2 separate regions of the Homo sapiens genome follow, and region 1 is linked to region 2. The links are contacts of gene promoters, found by promoter capture Hi-C in human tissues and cell types (Jung and others, 2019). All regions are on one chromosome and are shown on one strand. The core of a region is centred on a gene start or on the middle of the fragment in contact, and the rest is flanking DNA. Distances in the headings are between cores, read along the strand shown.

What was found. Contacts are between HindIII fragments. The study calls those that stand out against the background at their distance.
Region 1: a contact is called between a fragment that was not itself captured here and the fragment with the promoter of TMA16 in region 2, in 1 of the 25 tissues and cell types used here (mesenchymal stem cells).

What each region holds. Positions count from the first base shown.
Region 1 is chr4:163,109,158-163,113,209 of GRCh38, forward strand. LOC101928081 (a long non-coding RNA gene) reads left to right here and starts at 1,058. Exons shown (of 3, transcript XR_244745.4): 1 at 1,058-1,143. It also overlaps a transcript of NAF1 not described here. The HindIII fragment of the contact is 3,127 bases long and covers 748-3,874 here.
Region 2 is chr4:163,492,844-163,496,561 of GRCh38, forward strand. It overlaps TMA16 (translation machinery associated 16 homolog), which reads left to right and starts at 1,847. Exons shown (of 7, transcript NM_018352.3): 1 at 1,847-1,961. The coding sequence starts at 1,959. LOC124900805 (a long non-coding RNA gene) reads right to left here and starts at 2,381. Exons shown (of 2, transcript XR_007058354.1): 1 at 2,319-2,381; 2 at 1-2,053. RefSeq lists a cis regulatory region at 185-456 and enhancers at 1,738-2,640, 2,104-2,243, 2,274-2,423. The HindIII fragment of the contact is 18,907 bases long and covers 1-3,718 here.

The sequences.
Region 1 (4,052 bases), core at 1,061-3,560, 380 kb before region 2:
CCCTTTTTTTTTTTTTTTTCACATGGAAACTTAATCTTGGAGGGGCTAAGTGAATACAACTTCGATTAAATTACTACTTTCACAAACAACTCAAGAATACTTAGTTCTTCTCCCTCTTCATTAGCTTCTATCTTCGTATTTCTTATCAAATATAAAATTTATAGAGAATTTATACCATAAATTCTCTCAAATGATGCACTTAAAATAATTTCATGATTAAAAACTAATATTATCTACCTATGCTAATCTGAAACATTAGCCTACAATTGTTATTTATTCACTTTGGGGAAAGAAGAAAAAAGTTTTGAGTAGTTACACTCCATTTATTAAAAATCCTTTATTTTCTAGTGTCTAAAATATTTCAATGTCTAGGAAGAAAAAAAATCCTCTTGTGAGGTTAATAATGTATTCAAAGCATTTTTCTATTAGTTAGTGAATTTAAAAAGCACATACAGAAAGAACACAAGTGGTAACAGAAAAGTGAGGATGATCTAACCCTACCTCACAGCCTAAAAAAAGAATGCTATGACTTGTTTCTGTGAGGTCCCCAAGTGGCAAGGAGAGAGTGCTCCATGGGGAGCTAACACCTGACATTTTGCACAGAAAGGTGTCTCCTAGAATTACCTCACACTCTGCATAGATATAGAGATTACTGTCATCTTCAGTGAGTTTGAGAGGGGCCTATAAATAGGATCAGGTGAGGTCTGAATAAGCAATGATGTGTGTCTGATCTTCTGATCCAGAATGAAATGAAAACATAATTAGTTAACACGGAATGTGCTTTTAAAATGCAGATATGTAATCCTTATCTTACTTTTGTATGTCTCTCATTTTTACCTTTGTTTACTGCAAATGATATGTGAGGTAGCATCCTGCCCTATTAAGTATGCAGATATGGAGAACATTCAGTAAGATAGCTTTTCATTATTTATTTAGGCAGAACATACAGTACTTGAAATCTGTGGGTTGCCATGAGGTTCCCATGGCAACTCTTCTATGGATAAGAATGCTTGACTAGGCTGGTAGACTTGCTGTTACCATCACCAGCCATACCATCATTTGAGGATACAGTACTCTCCCCTCATCTGTGCTGTCACTTTTCGTGGTTTCAGTTACCTTCAGTCAACCATGGTCTGAAAATAGGTGAGGTAAAATCAGATATTTTGAGAGAGAAAGAATACATTCACATAACTGTTACTACAAAATATTGTTATAATTGTCCTATTGTATTATTAGTTGTTGTTAATCTCTTACTGTGCCTATTTCCTAAATTAATCTTTATCATAGGTATGTAAGTATAGGAAAAATCATGGTATATATAGGGTTCGCTACTATTTGTGATTTCAGGCATCCGCTGGTCTTGGAACATATCCCCCAAGGCTCAGGGGGAGCTACTGTATCATCATCTTAACTTTGAAAGTTAACTTGTAAATGAATTTTGCATATTCTCTTACTGATCTGGAAATCTAAGGTCAAGCAAAAGTGATGTTTATTTGCTTCAATACATTTCCACTGAAAGAGGACAGGAACTAGAGACAGATTTTAAGCTTTCAGTTTTGTTTTTGGTTTTCCTATTTTTGTTTCCATCAAGTTAAATTCTACTATGGATTTTTTTAACTCAAAATTGATGAGCTCTAGCACTTTGTAGCGTAGTTATTTACATATTTAGTCTTAGGAACCTGGAACTGTAATCTCTAGGGATTTATTTATATTTTTTAAAAATGGATTAAGGCCTACATCAAAACTGAGATAGAGCTGCTTGAGTTTTGTTTCTCCCTCTATAATAACTAGAAATTGTATTCCTTTTCACATATTAAACACCGGAAACATTTTAAAAAAGGTAAACCCCAAAAATTGCTTTTTGAAGGTTCCTCAGAAAACTCCTTACTAATTTATATCTCGCAAAAAAACTTTTTTGTAGATTTCTGGACATAACTTCAACTATTGCATAACTACCTTTTGTTTTTTTCAGAAGTGACAAGTGTTGAATATATACTTCTAGATACAAAGCTGAAGGACTGATTTGGTGTTAAAAAAATAGGTGAATATGAGTCAAGTTAGGAAGTAATTGAATACCAGAGGAGAGGGAGGAAGTAGTGGGAAAATGTCTTTGGTAGTTGTCAACCCATTTGAAACATTTAAATTCAGAGTGCTATCCCTAGAAAATTGGAAAGCAGGTTAATTCTTTAACCACCATTATTCCCTCCCCATCTCTGAGCATAAAGTAAAAGTAATATACAATCCTTATTGTTCTTCTATTTTGTTTTGAAACACAAAATAAAATGAAATAGAATGAGCTTGATCAACTGGAAGGATGGAGTTGTCATAAACTGAGGGAGCAGAAATGTCCAGTGGCGCAAGTTTGGGGTGAATTTAGAATTCATTTTGGACGTTAACATACCTATTAGTCATTTAAATAAAGATGTCAGGGAGTTTGTGCATTTCTGAGTCCAAGTGTCTGGAAGAGAAATGTGTACATAAAAAACATAAATGGATCAAGCATGAACTCTGTGACCCTCCTACCTTAAGAGACAGGGAAAAGAGAATCAATTAGAAAAGGGGACTGAGAAAGTAGAGCCACCGCTAGTGTTTTGTTCTAGGTAAATGGCATTTCTTCGAATTGTGCACTAGGTGGCCCATCTGAGAGTGAGCCGTGAACTAGGAGGAGAAAAAAGTAAAAGAGTTTGATGTCCTGGAAGCCAAGTGGGAAACATTTTAAGGAGTAGAAAATTTTATCAATCACGCAAAAAACGTTAAGTATGATGAAGACTGAGGTCAGACCATCATAGTTTGCACTGTAAAAGCCATTGATGACTTTGAAAAGGGCAGTTTCCACTAATGGAGGGGGAAGCCTGATTAGAATAAGCTACAGAGGAAATGGGAGAAGAGGAATTGGGAGTCTGAGATTATTAATAATTTTGCAAAAGAAAGCAGAACAGCTCAGTAGCTGGTGAAATGGGCCAAAGCAAGGATAAAAAAAATAAGATGAGAGAGATAATAGCGATTTTACAAAATGGAAAAAATGATTGGGGGGGGAGAAAAATTGCTAGAGTTCTCTCTCTCAGTAAGCAAAGACAGTACACAAATAAAGTGATTAGCTTTAAGTAAAAGTACTCTGTAAAGAAGGCAGTCATAGAATATTGAGGAAAAAAGTAGGTTGGTAGGTGAACATGGTGATGGAAATCTGAATGTATTTGAGCTATCACAGGTTGGATTCACTGGAAGCAAATACTGAGATGGAAATTGGAATACTGAACATGTGTTAGGGATCAACACTTAGGGAAGGGAGAGAGAGGAAACACATGGATGGAGGAGAAATTCAAACTGCAGTACATGCTTGGCAAAGCTTAACCAACCCAAAGAGAGCTCTGGATTTGTTCCTCCAGCCTTTATGCTGCCCTCAACCACTCCTTCTGGAAATGGACATTGGATTTGGGCTCCCCCTAGAAAGGTGCACTTAGGGCTCTCCATAAGTGAGATGGACTTTATAGTTGCTGAATGCTGGAAGATATCTGCTAACCCCAGCAGCTGGGGTATAAGGCTCTTTTTGTGAAGAGGGATGTGGATGATACAGCTCTATGTCCACCCAATAAAACTGTTTCCATTTTCTCAGTACAAAGAGGAAAACAAAACTGCTACTGAGGAGGGATAGTGAAATCAGGGAACAGAAGGCTTGAAGGTTGTAGAGGAGAGTTATGAAATTGTCACCTTGGTGAGTGACAAGTGAATGGACTAGGAAAAAAATATTGCAGCTTTAAGGCTCCCTTTTAGGTTTGGTAGTTATGAATCTCAAGTGATACCAGACAGCATGAGTGTTGGGTTTTCTCCGATCACGTTCAACTCTATATGTGTAGATGCAGGAGCAAAGGGAGACAAGAAGAAAAATTGAGACATCAAACCATTAGTAGGAGGCCAGATTATTTAGAGACTTGTCAGCCATTTAAGAATCTTGTCTTTTGTTTCCCAGTTAGATGGCAAGCACTTCAGGGTTCCTTTTAATCCTTTTGGTTTTGAGAAATAATACATATATAGATAGTTCCAGAATATAAGTG
Region 2 (3,718 bases), core at 597-3,096:
CAAAGGTGACCTTCATTGCATAGATTCACACACAAAAAAAGCCATGTGAAAATACCTTGCCCCTAGATTCAGGAATCTTCTGGACACACTCTTGTTTACAATTTAAATTATTTCCAAAAATTGATATATCTGTCGATTAAATACAAGTATTTGTGCGGCAGGAGAATAGGGTCTGGAAGCAGGGAAGCTAGGACTGATTTGTGCTGATGGGATATCAGTTGAAAGACTACTCCCCTTCAACCCCTCCTTTTTCTGCATGGCAGTTGCTGCCTGGCAGTTGCAAGCCCTTCTTTTTCTGTGTGGCAGTTGAAAAATGAAAGTGCCTCAGATTGGTCCCCTTCCTCAACCAATCAGACTTGTGGAAGACCAATGGGAAACCTCTAGAAGGTATTTAAACCCCAGAAAATTCTGCAACCTGTGCTTTTGAGCAGCTTGCCACAGCCTGCTTCCACGCAGTGGAGTAGTGTACTTTCATTTAAAATAAATCTCTGCTTTCGCTGCCTTGCTTTATTTGTGTGTTTTGTCCAATTATTTGTTCAAAACGCCAAGGACCTAGCCAACTACCCTCAACTGTTAACAGCTGCACACACATATCAAGGCACACCAGCTTCACCCTGCCTGGAGCTTCTTCCCATGCCTAGTTTTCTCTTACAATTCCGGTCTCTGCTCAATTATCACTTCTAAAAGAGGACTTTATAGAGACCACCATGTGTAAAACAGCTTTTCTACATGCCCCCGCCAGCTAATTTTTATTAGAGTACTTATATTATTTGAAATAATATTTTTACATGCCTCCATCCCCTGGAAAATGAGCTGAGTGAGGGATATTGTTGGAGTATCCCCAGTACCAGGCACACAGTAGGCATTCAATAAATAGTTTTTGAATGATTACATTGTCTACGGAATTCTAACATGTATGGGTGAAACAAAGACTCTCACATGCTGTGAGAAGAAAACAAAAACTGGGTTGGCAGAGGCCTTGAATATGAGGAAGTGGCCTTTCCGGATAAAGAAACTAAGACTCGGCCGGGCGTGGTGGCTCAGGCCTGTAATCTCAGCACTTTGGGAGGCCGAGGCGGACGGATCACCTGAGATCAGGAGTTCGAGACCAGCCTGGCCAACACGGCGAAACCCCGTCTCTACTAAAAATACAAAAAAAAAAAAAAAAAAAAAAAATTAGCCGGGCGTGGTGGCGGAGGCCTGTAATTCCAGCTGTTCGGGAGGCTGAGGCAGGAGAATCGCTTGAACCCGGGAGGAAGAAAGAAAGAGGGAATGAGGGAAGGCGGGAAAGAGGGAAAGAAGAAAAGAAAAGAAAGGAAAGAGAAGAGGGGCGGGGCGGGGCAGGGCAGGGCAGGGCAGGGCAGGGCAAAAAAAGACTCAGTGCAGGAAAGGACTTGCCCAAGGTAATCTAGTACGTGGAAAAGCGGAGGGCAGGAGCCTGTGCCGTGCAAGAGCTCCGGGGAGCCAACACCGAGCGGCCCTTTTGAGAGGGTCCCAGCCCCTGAGATGCGGGAGCCCGCAAGAGGGAACCTCTTGTCTGAAGAGGTTGCTGCGCTCTGGAGTCGTGCTCTGGGACAGATGGGCAAGCTCCGCTCTTGGGGCCGGAAGCGTGTAGCGTCTCCACCCGGGCTCCAATCCCCAGCCTCGCACTCAGCACCAGGCAGAGTTCAGCCTCCCGCCGCAAGCTCCCTTCCGCCGCTCCCGGCGAGCACGCAGGTCTGGCTGTCCGTTGGGCTAGAGCTTAAAAGCCCAACACGGGCGAAAAAGACGCGGTCTCAGTTAACGGGGACGCTTTAGAGAAACGCACTCGCCTCTCCTGTTCCGGTTGGGTCGGCGCGGGCTTCTCAGGCGCCACGTGGGATTCGGCCCGGGTGCTCTTGTGAGCTGCTGCTCCTGCGGTTGGTGAGATTACCTGGGTCTAGAGTGCGGAGCTGCTCCGTGGCCACGAGGACGTCACCATGGTGGGCCCCCTCCTGCTCCCCCGAACCGCTCGGTTGGTTCCCCGGAAGGCTCTTGTTGAGCAGGCAGAGAGGGAGGGTGCGGTTTCGGGAACCTAGGAGAGGGGAGGATGCAAAGTGTTTATTTTCAGGGAGTGTGCGGGGTGCGGGGCGAAGCCTCTGGGAGGCGAGTCCCAGGCCCAACGCCTGGACCTTAGAGTTCCGCGTCCGAGTGCTGAAGTGCTCACACGTCGCCTTGCTCCTCTTTGCCTTGTGCCTAACTTCTCGCTAGTCACTACTTCCTGGGGGAAACCCGGCACCTTTCCATTGTAACGCATCGAGGAGTTTGGCAAAACTTCTGAGATCGCTGGCCCTACACACCTCTGCCTCTCTGGCCTGGGTAGACTCAGTATGTGGGCTTAGTCGCCTCTTCCTCGGCGTCCGTTCACCTCTCGTTAGTGCCCTGAATCCTGCCGTTACGCCCCCATTCGCTCCAGGGCACTGAAGCAGTTTTGTTGTTTTTATTAAAAACTGAGTAGATACAAAAGAGTGTTACTAAAGCACATTTCAAGTGTAAAGATGAACAGTTTCAGGAATTCTCGTTTACCCATTTTGTAGTTTTAAGAAATAAAACATAGCCTTTGAAAGCCCTGTGTTACCTTCTTTGAACTTTCAGGAAACCTTAAGAAGCAAACATTATCTAAGTTTTGTATTTATAATTTCACTACTTTTCTTTATAGTTACTACATATATTTGTATTTTGAAACAGTATGTTGTTTCTTGCCTATTTTTTACGTAATCGTTGTGTTCTTGAGAGTAATTCTTGCATAGAAACATGCTTTATAAATTTTTTTCAATTAATTTTTAATAAAAGCAAAATTTTAAAAGTTTATAATCTGGTCAGAAGTTACGATATTGTGTCCACAATGTGGCCTCTTTGTTTCTTTTCATTTTTTTCTCTTTTCATTGTATGCCATTTTTGTCTTACAGTCTGGTTCTTTCGTTGTTTCGCGAGTTTTTTGTGCTTTATTTTGATCCACTGCTGACGCATATTTTGTACTTTAGATTGTACACATTTGTGTAAATTCAGTGTTTGCTTGTCACTTTGCTTGTGGGATTTCCAACTCTTTATAGTGTTAGTTTTTTTCCCCTTTTCAGAGTGGAATATGAAAGCAATTACATCTCATTGTGTTTGAGTGATTGGGGAGATAGATTGGTATTTGACTGTAGTTGTCCTTGACTATCAGAGCTTCACTTTTTATCAGGCTGTATAGTAGAAGTACGTTGCTTTGGCATAGAAGTCAAAAGAGTGGCATATGAACCTGTTTTCATTGGCTCATTTCTGGCTCTGTCATTTTTTTTTGATATAACCTCATTAGTGGTTTTGCTGCATCCTCTTTCAGTACAGCTCAGAATGTGGTCCCAAAGGACAGAGTTGGGCACCTGTCTTTCCCTGAGTTGCCATCTTGGCAAAATTACTTAACCTCCCATCTGTTTAATTGGGATAACAATAGTACCTACCTCATAGAATTGTGGAAATTAAATGTAAAGTGCTTAGTCTAGTGCCTGGCACTTAGTAAATGTTATTGTTATTAACTTTAGTTATATAAATAGTAACAGTGTACAGCTTATAGTTGTTCATCCTTGTTACTTTGCTCATTAATGTTCTCTTATTGTAAATCTTTGCTGGAGCTTAGCAAGTTCATATCTTTATATCAAAATTTAGTTTACCTGTTATATATAAATAATCTTTTCAAATTAATCCATTCCACTCAACACTT